4 separate regions of the Homo sapiens genome follow, and regions 1, 2 and 4 are each linked to region 3. The links are contacts of gene promoters, found by promoter capture Hi-C in human tissues and cell types (Jung and others, 2019). All regions are on one chromosome and are shown on one strand. Each heading gives the region's core, a stretch centred on a gene start or on the middle of the fragment in contact. The rest is flanking DNA. Distances are from core to core; before and after follow the strand shown. Region 1 overlaps PTPN23 (protein tyrosine phosphatase non-receptor type 23). Region 2 holds the start of CSPG5 (chondroitin sulfate proteoglycan 5). Region 3 holds the start of CDC25A (cell division cycle 25A). Region 4 holds the start of ELP6 (elongator acetyltransferase complex subunit 6).

Region 1 (3,034 bases), core at 250-2,749, 800 kb after region 3:
TGGATCACTTGAGGTCAGGAGTTCGAGACCAGCCTGACCAACATGGTGAAACCCCATCTCTACTAAAAACACAAAAATTAGCCAGGCATGGTGGTGGGCACCTGTAATCCCAACTTCTCAGGAGGCTGAGACAGGAGAATCGCTTGAACTCAGGAGGGGGAGGTTGCAGTGAGCTGAGATTACAACACTGCACTCCAGCCTTGGCCACACAGCAAGACTCCATCTTAAAAAAACAAAACAAACAAACAAAACTAGGTAACACACTGGGTGCAGTGGTTCACACCTGTACTTCCAGCACTTTGGGAGGCCGAGGCCAGAGGATCACTTGACCCCAAGAGTTCAAGGCCAGACTGGGCAACATAACAATAAATCCCATCTCTACAAAAATTTAAAAATGAATCAGCCAGGTGCAGCGCACATCTGTAGTCTCAGCTACTCCAGAGGCTGAGGCAGGAGGATCACTTGAGCCTAGCAGTTCAAGTCCAGCCTGGGCAACAAAGAGTAAATCCCATCTCTAAAAACAAAACAAAACAAAAATACTAGATAGTGAGAATTTGGGTGAGCACTGAATTATTCTTCCAATTTTTCTATATGTTTGAAATTTGGAAAACAAATGTCTTAAGAGTTGCTGAAGAGCTAAATGGTACCTGAATACCACTTTCCCCTATCAGTGGTTTTTATTTAGCCTTTTGTGGGTCCTTTGAGAATATGATAAAAGCCATGAATTAAATCCCCCTAGAAATTTTCAACTATGCACAAACATAAGGATTTACCAAGAACTTTAGGGAGCTGACAGGCATTTAACAATCTTCACTCTGATCTATCCAACTCCACCCCCTCTCCACTCCCTCCCTCAAAAATAATTATGACAACAACAACAACAAAAACACAACTACAAAAAGTGGCCTTGGGTTGGGCATGATGGCTCATGACTATAATCCCAGCACTTTGGTAGGCTGGGGTGAGAGGATCACTTGAGGCTAGGAGTTCCAGACCAGCCTGGGCAATATGGCGAGACCCCCATCTCTACGAAAAAAAATTTAAAAATTAGCCAGGAGTGGTGGTGCATGCCTGTGGTCTCAGCTAGTTGGGAGGCTGAGGCAGGACTGCTTAAGCTCAGGAGTTTGAAGCTGCAGTGAGCTATGATGGCACCACCTTACTTCAGCTGGGGTGTCAGAGTGAGACCCTGTCTGTATTAAAAAATAAAAATAGGCCAGGCACAGTGGCTCATGCCTGTAATCCCAGCAGTTTGGGAGGCCAAGGTGGGCCGATCGTTTGAGCCCAGGAGTTCAAGACAAGCCTGGGCAACATGGCAAAACCCCATTTCTACAAAAAGCACAAGAATTAGCCACGTGTGGTGGTGTGCGCCTATACTCTTGGCCAGTTGGGAGGTTGAGGTGAGAGGACTGCTTGACACCAGGAGTTCAAGGTTGCAGTGAACCATGATTGTGCCACTGCACTCCAGCCTGGGTGAGAGTGTGACACTATCTCAAAAATAATTAATTAACTAAAATATTTTTTAAAATGTGGCCTAAGCTATGAGGTAAAACTTGACTATATGAGAGAATGTTCTGTGGTTAACTCCCTTGCAGTAAGAGGTTTTGCCCACCCTTAGGTTAGAGAAAATGAGTAAAAGTGTAGCTCAGAGGTCTCGTGGGATAGAGGCCAAAGGAATCAGATGGACAGGAGACTCCTACATCCTAGAAACAAGGCTTCCCGTGATATCACTAGGAACATCTGACCCTGCTGTTCACACAATGGTGACAGAAAGATGCTGCTCCCACCCCTAGCAAATCATGCCTAGAGGTCACATTCTATCTGAATCTCATCTCCGTCCTCCTATAAGATCAGCAGCAGATGCTTAACTGAGAACCTACCACAGGTCAGGCACTGTGCTGAGTGCCTAGTAATCACTCCATCCTTAGAACAACCCTAAGAGGTAGACACTATTATCATCACCACTTTACAGATGAGGAAATGAGGAAACTGAGGCAAAGAGTTAGGGTATTCACCAAGGTCACGGTGCTAATAACTGATGGGGATATGACTGAAACCCAGGCATTTGGGCTCCAGAGCCCATGTTCTTTCCATATTAGACCATTCCATTTCTATTTAAATTGTTTTTAGTTTATTTTTTATTGTTTTATTTTATTTTCGAGACAAGGTCTTGTTCTGTTGCCCAGGCTGGAGTTACAGTGGTACTGCAACCATAGCTCACTGCAGTCTCAAACTCCTGGGTCCAAGTAATTCTCCTGCCTCAGCCTTCCAAGAAGCCGGAACTACAGGCACATACCACCATACTCAGCTAATTTTCTGTAGAGGTAGTGTCTTGCTATATTGCCCAGGCTGGTCTGGAACTTCTAGCCTCAAGCAATCCTTCTGCCTCAGACTCCCAAAGTGTTGGGATTACAGACATGAGCCATCACGCCCAAACTTTTTTTTATTTTATAGAGATGGGAGTCTCACTATGTTGCCCAGTCTGGTCTTAAACTCCTGGGCTCAAGCAGTTGACCCACATCAGCCTCCCAGAGCATTTCTATTTTTTAAAAATATGGTTCTTACAAACAACTCTGAAAAACAGGCACAGAAAATGAATCCCTGGCCACACAGTGAGTCAGTGGAGCAGCCAGGATATTTATGTTATTATTATTATTTGCAGCCTGTTAGAAGCAAAAGGATGTTTTTAAAACCCTAACAAAATCCTCTGTGACTGCTGATCACTCCTCCACTAAAAAAGAAGAAAGAGGCTGGGTGAAGTTCCTGGAGTAAGGGACAGAGACCTTGTCCCCATTTCGCTATGGTCTGGGACTCTGCAGAACTCGGAACAGTCTAGCGGGAAGTATGAAGCTCCAATGGAGGCTGAGAAGGCAGGCCCAGCAGCAGACGAGGAGAAAGAACCAGAGGCCCTGACAGGACCCCAGTACCTACACAACTAACAGGAAGAAGACCAGAGAACCTCCAAAAACAGCCAGGCTTTGAAGTAGCTGGGGATCCTTTTCTGAAGGAATAAAAGAAGACCCGTGGAGAGCTCTCA
Region 2 (3,231 bases), core at 612-3,111, 610 kb after region 3:
GAAAATGTGTGAGTGGTTGTCATGCCCCAGACATCAAGGAACCCATCCATGAGGTCTTCCCACACAGACTGGCCTCAGGAAGGGAAGGAGGAGGTAGGCCGCTCTGACAGCCACAACCCGAGTTGAGGAAACAAGCAAAGGAACACAGAGAGTCTACATACAGTAAAAGGTGACAGGAGTTAAGCTGCACACAAGGGAAGCAGAGATGGGTTGGAGGCAGTTAAGGGTGCGTTGCTGCCTCTGTGGCTGAGGTGAGTGCAAAGCCCTACATGGTCCCCTGTTTAGAGAAGGCTATTGTTTCAAACATATTTTACTTGGTCCCCGGAGGCAGCATGAAACTATGAAAGAAAGAGCCTTACCCCTTTTTTCAAGGCTCTCCAGACCACAGTTCTGGGATGGGTGTGGGTGGTTGCCATTCGTTCATTTATGCCTGTCTGATATGGAGCCTCCCTCTGTTACCAGCCCTGTGCACTCAAGTGCCTTGCAGTCCAGTGAGGAATAACTGTAGATAAGATGAGATGATGGGCATTAAGTGTAACTGCTGAGAAGCCTTCATAGAGGGAAAGGTGATAAGAACTGAGTTTTTCTGGCATGAGGAGTTTACCAGGCAGGAGAGGTGGAGACGCTAGGCTAGGCAAATAGGCTGCAGCCATAGTTCTGCTGAGAAACAGGTTTTGAACCAAGGCAACTCCATCTGGAGATATGTATCAGAAAGATTAGGAGATAGAATCTCCATCTTGGTCACTTATTTGGTCTTCTAAGACAGCAATGGGACCGTCTCTTAAATACTGGAGTTGTCCTATCTCCTTGGGCTGATACCCTGAACTGTCATTTGGGTGAGTAACACATTAAGGGGTAGACGGTCGGTTTGGGGGAATAAACTAAGTAACTAGGTTGCGGTTCCTCCTGCCGACTAAGCAGACCTCCTGGTGCGTGGTCTTGGGTTGCCCTGTGAGCCCTGAAGCTGTGAATGGGCCCCACAGATCACTCTAAAGCCAAGCATCCATGTGTGCCCGGCTGGGGATCTAGACCCCCCTGGTCTACCCAGGAACCTGAGTTTTGGTGGTCTGAGACACCTGGGGGACGACGTATCCCGGAGAAGGGACCAGGATTAAAGGCCGCTCCCCAGGCTGCCCGGAGACTAGAAGGAAGGCGAGGTAGCCGCAGTCCCAGGGAGGGTCTTACCCCTTGCTCCCGGGATGCGTTATGGCGGGCCTGGCTGTGCGAGATCTAGGCTAGTGGCTTTGGCTGCGAACGGATTAGATCTGATCCGATTAGAGCCTGGGCGGTCGGCTTCGCCCCCTTGCCAGGCTCTGCCAACGCCCGCCCCTCCCTCGTGGAGACCCGGAGACCTCCCTGAGAGCCTTCCCGCCCGGAACACGGGATTGGTGCAGAATCCGAGAGGCTCCATGCGCCCCGGGCCTGGCTTGTTTCCACAGTGGGGGCTCGTGCTTCCGCCCCCTGCGGCTCTTCTGGACCCCGCCCCGACCCTGCGGGTAACTGGGCCCGCGACGTCCCCGCCTCCGTGCTTGCCGCGTGGCGGGTGGGTTCCTCCGGGTCGGGGCCCCGTGCCGCCTGTTCACCTGGGGCGGGACCGTGGCCCCATCCCACAGGTCTCCCGCCCGTGCACCTGCCGCCTAACGCCGCGCGCCGCGCCGTGCGCCTGCCTCGCGCTCCCCGTCCGCCTGCCCCGCACTCCCCGTCCGTGTGTCTCCTAGTCCCCAGCGAGGGGTCTGTCTGTTCCCCTGGCAGGCTGACCAAGGGGCCGGCGTCACCGCTACGTGCGGCGGGGCCGGCGCGGCGGGCGGGGTGAGGGCGGCGCTGAGCGCAGCGGCGGCAGCGGCGGCGCGGGAGGCGGGGAGGCGCGGCGCGCCGGGGACAGCGGCGGACGGCGGCGGCGGCGGCATGCGGCTCCTCGCGCTGCCCATCGTGGGCTGAGGCGGCCGCAGAACCGGCGGGAGGCGCGGCGGCCGGGCGAGCCGAGGGCGCAGCCAGCCGGGCGGACCGCGGACAGCGGTCGGGGCGCCGCGCCATGGGGCGAGCCGGGGGCGGGGGCCCGGGCCGGGGGCCGCCGCCACTGCTGCTGTTTCTGGGGGCCGCGCTGGTCCTGGCCTCTGGGGCCGTGCCGGGTAGGTATGACTGCGCCCGGGACCCCCGCGGCCCTCGTGCCCCACCCAGGGCAGGGGTCCCGCTGGCGGCGGGGACAGGTGGAGCTGTGAGCTGTGGCAAGGGGGCGGGGCACCGCCTGGCCGCGGCCGGGCGGCGGAATGGTCCCAGGAGGTGGTGGGGGTCCGGGAAAGGCCGACCCGCGTGGGGGCCGACCCCGGTTGGGGTAGCCGGGACCCAAGCGCGCGGGCCGCGGTGCGGACTGGGGGCGGGGCCGGGGGCGGGGCCGGGGCGGGGCCGGGGCGGGGCCTGAGGGTGAGACTTCGGGGCGGGACCTGGAGCTGAGGGCGGGAGCCAGTGGACGCGGCTCAGGGTGGGTTCCCGAGGGTGAGACTTATGGGTGGGCCGAGCTGGGGGCCGCCCTGGCCTGGCTCTTCAGACGGCGGGGCAGGTCGGGCGGGGCCGAGCCGCGAGGCGTTGGGCGGGGTGTGATCCTCGTCTTGGGGGCAGACTCCGGGACGGGGCTTAGAGGTACCGGGTGGCTGGGGTCACACTGGGGCGGTGGGGTCTGAGGGTGGCGAGGTCTGGGTTGACCAGGTCTAGGCGAGCGGGCCTGACCGGGGCGGGCCGGGGCTCCAGGGCTCCTCAGCGCGCCGCCCTGACGTCCCGCCCCTTGCCCTCCCGCCCGCAGCGCGTGAGGCGGGCAGCGCGGTTGAGGCCGAAGAGCTGGTGAAGGGCAGCCCGGCGTGGGAGCCGCCTGCCAACGACACGCGGGAAGAAGCCGGCCCACCAGCGGCTGGGGAAGATGAGGCGTCGTGGACGGCGCCCGGTGGCGAGCTGGCCGGGCCAGAAGAGGTGCTGCAGGAGTCGGCTGCGGTGACCGGCACCGCCTGGCTGGAAGCTGACAGCCCAGGCCTGGGAGGAGTGACCGCAGAGGCGGGCAGCGGCGATGCCCAGGCCCTTCCAGCTACGCTCCAGGCTCCCCACGAGGTCCTCGGGCAGTCAATCATGCCCCCTGCCATTCCTGAGGCTACAGAGGCCAGCGGGCCACCCTCCCCCACCCCCGGCGACAAGCTGAGCCCAGCTTCTGAACTCCCCAAGGAGAGCCCCTTGGAGGTTTGGCTG
Region 3 (2,787 bases), core at 41-2,540:
AATAGCCTGGGGTTTCTGGAGGGAAGGGAGGTTCCTGGGTGGTGGAGCACTGGTGCACAGAAAAGGAGATGAATCCTGAGAGAGAGGTTCCTCACTGTGAAGGGTCTGGTGTTGGGGCCAAAGGTTTGGGGTTTCCACCTGTCCAGCATGGCTTTTCAAACTGTAGGGTTTTTTTTTTTTGAGTGGGGGGCAGGGGGTGTCTCACTTTGTTGCCCAGGCTGGTCTCAAATTCGTGGGCTCAGGCAATCCTCCCACCTCGCCCTCCCAAAGTGCTGGGATGATAGGCGTGAGCCACTAAGCCCAGCAGTAGGTTGCAATTAAATCATGCACTTATGGCCCTCAAAATCCGTCTAGGAGCTGCCACAGGTTCGGCGCTGTAAAAGTAAATATGCCCACTTAGAAAATGGGGATAATTCCTATGTCACAGAGTTGTAAAGATTAAATGAATTAATACAGATTAACACACTGGGAACAGTGTCAAGTGCATAAGCATTATGTAAACTTTAGCTATTATTTGCTATTATTGTGTTTGCTGTTATTTCTCTCTAGGAGCTCCCAGGGGGCTAAGAAGTGGTGGGAAAGAAAGAAATGATTCTAAGAGCATCCAATAAGGGCTAGAATGGAAGTGAGCAAAAAATGCTGAGGCCCACAGCACAGGTTGTACTGCGGGGTTCAAATCCCATGAGGCCAGCAGCACCCAGGGTCTGTGAGCCCTCCAGAGTTGGGCCCTGGTGGTCGAGTCCAGTCCTGGGGGTCATTGCATTCCCTCCCTCATTATAAAATGGGGCCTGGAGGCCCGGGGCGGAAGAAAGGGGTCCACAATACTGCACGGTTAGAGGCCGAGCCAAGGCTGGATCCGGCCAGACCTCCACAGGTCTTCCTTAGCCTCCACATTGCCTCAGAGTGTGGGGCGCCCGGCTGGGGGCGAGGTAGCGGAGGCCCAAAGGGGGCCGAAGCTAACTGGACGGCAGCTCGCGATGGGAACTACGCTTCCCAGCATGCGACGGGGCAAAGGGGCCTTTCAGCCGCGAGCAGCGCCTCGCAGGTTCTGCTGGGAGTTTTCATTGACCTCTGCTCCCCCTCTCATTTTGATCCCCGCTCTTCTGCTCTGGGCTCCGCCCCCTTCTGAGAGCCGATGACCTGGCAGAGTCCCGCGAGCCGCTTTCTTCTTCCCCTCTCATTGGCCCAGCCTAGCTGCCATTCGGTTGAGAGGAGGAGAAGTTGCTTACTGATTGGTGGATTCCGTTTGGCGCCAACTAGGAAAGGGGGGCGGGGCAGCAGCTGGCCCCACTGAGCCGCTATTACCGCGAAAGGCCGGCCTGGCTGCGACAGCCTGGGTAAGAGGTGTAGGTCGGCTTGGTTTTCTGCTACCCGGAGCTGGGCAAGCGGGTGGGAGAACAGCGAAGACAGCGTGAGCCTGGGCCGTTGCCTCGAGGCTCTCGCCCGGCTTCTCTTGCCGACCCGCCACGTTTGTTTGGATTTAATCTTCAGGTTGCCGGCGCCCGCCCGCCCGCTGGCCTCGCGGTGTGAGAGGGAAGCACCCGTGCCTGTGGCTGGTGGCTGGCGCCTGGAGGGTCCGCACACCCGCCCGGCCGCGCCGCTTGCCCGCGGCAGCCGCGTCCCTGAACCGCGGAGTCGTGTTTGTGTTTGACCCGCGGGCGCCGGTGGCGCGCGGCCGAGGCCGGTGTCGGCGGGGCGGGGCGGTCGCGGCGGAGGCAGAGGAAGAGGGAGCGGGAGCTCTGCGAGGCCGGGCGCCGCCATGGAACTGGGCCCGGAGCCCCCGCACCGCCGCCGCCTGCTCTTCGCCTGCAGCCCCCCTCCCGCGTCGCAGCCCGTCGTGAAGGCGCTATTTGGCGCTTCAGCCGCCGGGGGACTGTCGCCTGTCACCAACCTGACCGTCACTATGGACCAGCTGCAGGGTCTGGGCAGGTAAGGAGAGACCGGCGGGCGGTGCTCCGGGCCCCTGGCCTCGGTGTCGGCCTCGGAGAGATCAGGCCAGGAAACGGACCGGGAGAAGGGCGAGACCCGTCCGTCCGGGTTCGCCGCTCGGGGACAGCCGGGCTAGGGCCTGCCATGTGCACCCCCGCCCGGGCGGAATGTTGGGCGGGAGAGGCCGTCGGGACCTTCCAGGGGAAGAGGTGGAGATCCTTGGGCCTAAGCCCGAGCCAGGCCCACCTTCACCCCTTTCGGATTGCTCCGTACTCTCCTTCTATCTCTATCCCTGGAAGCTCTTTGGAATCTACCCCCGCGGGGAAAATCAGGCTCTTCTAGGCACTCACTTTCACCCTTTGCTAAACCATCCTCAGGATCTTCGTTTGCTGTGATCTTTGTTCCTTCTCAACAAAGGACCATGGCATTTTCTTTCCTGGCGTTTATGTAAAATCATCTCAGTCCCTCGCCCTGTGCACATTCCTGATGTCCACTCTGCTGCTTTCCTAAGGCCAGGTCTTTTTACCCAACTTTCAGAAAGCTTCCTGGGCTTTTCCTGATAGCAAAAAATGCATCCCACGGTGTTTCCCGCGGAAGAGCTACTTTCCCTTCAATCTCTGGCATCCCGTTTGCTAAGCACATGTCTTGTGCGTTTCCCAACTTCTGAAAAGCAGAAAGTGTCCTGTTCAACTTTCATCCCGACTCTGTCTCAGTACTTAGAACACATGCTTTTATTTTAGGAAATACCCCAACATTTGCCATAGCCATCATAACCTGCAATGTGGTCCAAGGCCATGCCCACCCACTCCTTTTTTCTCCTTTGCCCAAGTGCTAATTGGGTGTTCAGAGTGGCAAAGT
Region 4 (2,770 bases), core at 56-2,555, 670 kb after region 3:
GGAAAAAGAAGTGTTGGGAAAGGGACAGTTTGTGATTTAAGTAAGGTGCTCAGGGAAGGCCTCACGAATAAAGTGACATCGGAGCAGAGACCTGAAGGAAGTGGGGAATTTTAAAATCAGCTTAATATCTGGGAAAAGGGGCATTCCAGGAAGAGGGAAGAGTTAGTATAAAGGCTCTGAGGACAGGCATACAGGGCGTGTTGCAACCACACTGTTTTTTAACGAAGTCTCACACTGCTGCCCAGGCTAGAGAGCAATGGCGTGATCTCGGCTTACTGCAACCTCTGCCTCCCAGGTTCAAGCGATTCTACTGGCTCAGCCTCCCGAGTGGCTGGGATGACAGGCGCCCCCCACCACGCCAGGCTAATTTTTTGTATTTTTAATAGAGAAGGGGGTTTCACTATATTGGCCAGGCTAGTCTCGAACTCCTGACCTCGTGATCCCTCCGTCTAGGCCTCCCAAAGTGCTGGCATTACAGGTGTGAGCCACCGCGCCCAGCCGCAACCACACTTTCTTAGTGAGACCCACCCTGACAACCTCTTTAATTCTGGAACCTACCCCTGCCCCCATTGGTACTCTCTAATCCCACTTTGCTTTTCTCCACACAACTTTTCAAGATATAATTCCGTGTCGGCCGGGCGTGGTGGCTCATGCCTGTAATCCCAGCACTTTGGGAGGCCGAGGCCGGCGGATCACGAGGTCGGGAGATCAAGACCATCCTGGCTAACACGGTGAAACCCCGTCTCTACTAAAAATACAAAAAATTAGCCGGGCGTGGTGGCGGGCGCCTGTAGTCCCAGCTACACTCGGGAGGCTGAGGCAGGAGAATGGCGTGAACCCAGGAGGCGGAGACTGTAGTGAGCCGAGATCGCGCCACTGCACTCCAGCCTGGGCGACAGGGCAAGACTCCGTCTCAATTAAATAATAATAATAATAATAATAATAATAATAATAATAATAAATTCCCTGTCCTTTGTTTTTGTTCATCGATGTAGCCCAAGCTCCCAGGAGTGTGGGGCATACAGAAGGCGCTTGACAGCCACGTGTGGAGAAAAGGAGCCCGGGGCTGGGCAGAGAGCGAGGCCAAGGGAAGAAGAATACTCGGTCGCGTGGAGCCTTGGGGGCCCACTGGGAGGGCTCGGGCGCCACGCAGATCTGCGCGGAATGAGCCGCCAGAGGCCGCTGGCAGTCGCACAGAGAAGCCCATCGTTTCCTACCACCTGGGACTCGACGGACGTCTACGCGCGTGCGCAGCGGTCCCATCGAGGCACCCGCCTCATTGGCTGTGGCTGGCTCGCAAAAGTGGCATTGCGCATGCGCGCTTCCTTGCGCGAGCCGGGCTGTCGGGTGTGTTTTGCTCTCCAGCCTCCGTCGTCTCTGCAGCACTCCGGGTTCTCCTCCAGAGCGCTAGTCCCAGGAGCTCGGAATGTTCGTGGAACTTAATAACCTGCTTAACACCACCCCCGACAGGGCGGAGCAGGTAAGAGGTCCCGCTGGCCGGAAGGGGGCGGGACCTGGCAGGGCAGCGGAATACTGCATCCGGGAGGCGGTGCGCACGACCCCGGGGAATGGCGCGACGACCCGGCACGGGGTACCTGGGAGTTGTAGTCCGCAGAGGATCGACCCGGGGATTGGACTGGAGGCTTGGGCCCGCCGAAAGTGGGCTTCTGGGCCATCTCGCATATTCTCAACGGCTGTGCGTGTCCTTAAAAGTCCCTGGGAAGCGGCCGGGCGCGGTGGCTCACCCCTGTAATCCCAGCAGTTTGGGAGGCCGAGGCGGGTGCATCATCTAAGGTCAAGAGTTCGAGACAAGTCTGGCCAAGATGGTGAAACCCCCGTCTCTACGAAAAATACAAAAATTAGCCGGGCGTGGTGGCTCATGCCTGTAATCTCAGCTACTCGGGAGGCTGAGACAGGAGAATTGCTTGAACCCGGGAGGCGGAGGTTGCAGTGACCCGAGATCTCGCCACCGCACTCCAGCCTGGGCGACAGAGCGGGACTCCACCTCAAAAAAAAAAAAAAAAAGTACCTGGGAAGCATGGCCGACAGTGGGGTTGGGTTATATTCGCGGACGTGAACTGTGGCGCGCTGTGCATGTTCACTGGGGTGGGGGGTCCCAGGCGCTCAGAGGAGACTGCAGAATAGGCCCGAGAGGAGAGGGGAGTTCGTTTCGCCGCCGTCTTCATGGGCGAGCTTCCTAACCGCCACCTCGCCCCGGAGCAATTGGCACATTGTATTGAACGCTGCTGTTCTTCTTACTCTTCCTCCTTGTGATCTCTAATAGAACTGTTAGAAGCAGGACAGAGCCAAATTGGCTTGGACCAAGTCCGTCTTGGGCACCCCAGGCTGGCCTGTTCTCTCCACCCTCCTCACACTCCGGGGTACCTTGAAACCTTTCACATTTTAACGTAGGAGTAACCTCTTTCAGGAGTGTATCTTTTGGCTTATTTATTTATTTATTTATTTTTGATGGAGTCTCGCTCCCTCGCCTGGGCTGGAGTGCACTGGCGCGATCTCGGCTCCCTGCAACCTCACCTCCCGGGTTCAAGTGATTCTCCTTATTCAGCCTCCCAAGTAGCTGGGATTGCAGGCGTGCGCTACCACACCGGGCTAATTACTTGGCTGATTTTTTTTTGTATTTTTTGTTAGAGACGGGGTTTCACCATGTTGGCCAGGCTGGTCTGGAACTCCTGACCTCAGGTGATCCGCCCGCCTCTGCCTCCCAAAGTGCTGGGATTACAGGCGTGAGCCACCACGCCCAGCCTGGTTT

What was found. Contacts are between HindIII fragments. The study calls those that stand out against the background at their distance.
Region 1: a fragment that was not itself captured here is called in contact with the fragment with the promoter of CDC25A in region 3 in 1 of the 25 tissues and cell types used here (heart left ventricle).
Region 2: a contact is called between the fragment with the promoter of CSPG5 here and the fragment with the promoter of CDC25A in region 3, in 3 of the 25 tissues and cell types used here (IMR-90 fibroblasts, hippocampus and pancreas).
Region 4: a contact is called between the fragment with the promoter of ELP6 here and the fragment with the promoter of CDC25A in region 3, in 1 of the 25 tissues and cell types used here (pancreas).

What each region holds. Positions count from the first base shown.
Region 1 is chr3:47,390,363-47,393,396 of GRCh38, reverse strand. All of the region lies in intron 1 of PTPN23 (protein tyrosine phosphatase non-receptor type 23), which reads right to left. Among named protein-coding and RNA genes, the nearest start is that of PTPN23-DT, 10 kb to the right of the region's middle. The HindIII fragment of the contact is 5,453 bases long and covers 1-3,034 here.
Region 2 is chr3:47,577,495-47,580,725 of GRCh38, reverse strand. CSPG5 (chondroitin sulfate proteoglycan 5) reads left to right here and starts at 1,861. Exons shown (of 5, transcript NM_006574.4): 1 at 1,861-2,129; 2 at 2,798-3,231. The coding sequence starts at 2,033. RefSeq lists an enhancer at 532-1,236 and silencers at 2,361-2,410, 2,451-2,510, 2,561-2,650. The HindIII fragment of the contact is 21,614 bases long and covers 1-3,231 here.
Region 3 is chr3:48,186,920-48,189,706 of GRCh38, reverse strand. It overlaps CDC25A (cell division cycle 25A), which reads left to right and starts at 1,290. Exons shown (of 15, transcript NM_001789.3): 1 at 1,290-1,929. The coding sequence starts at 1,760. RefSeq lists a silencer at 1,624-1,833 and an enhancer at 1,577-2,205. The HindIII fragment of the contact is 16,525 bases long and covers 1-2,787 here.
Region 4 is chr3:47,512,247-47,515,016 of GRCh38, reverse strand. It overlaps ELP6 (elongator acetyltransferase complex subunit 6), which reads left to right and starts at 1,305. Exons shown (of 7, transcript NM_001031703.3): 1 at 1,305-1,480. The coding sequence starts at 1,427. RefSeq lists enhancers at 1,341-1,450, 1,781-1,890. The HindIII fragment of the contact is 13,702 bases long and covers 1-2,770 here.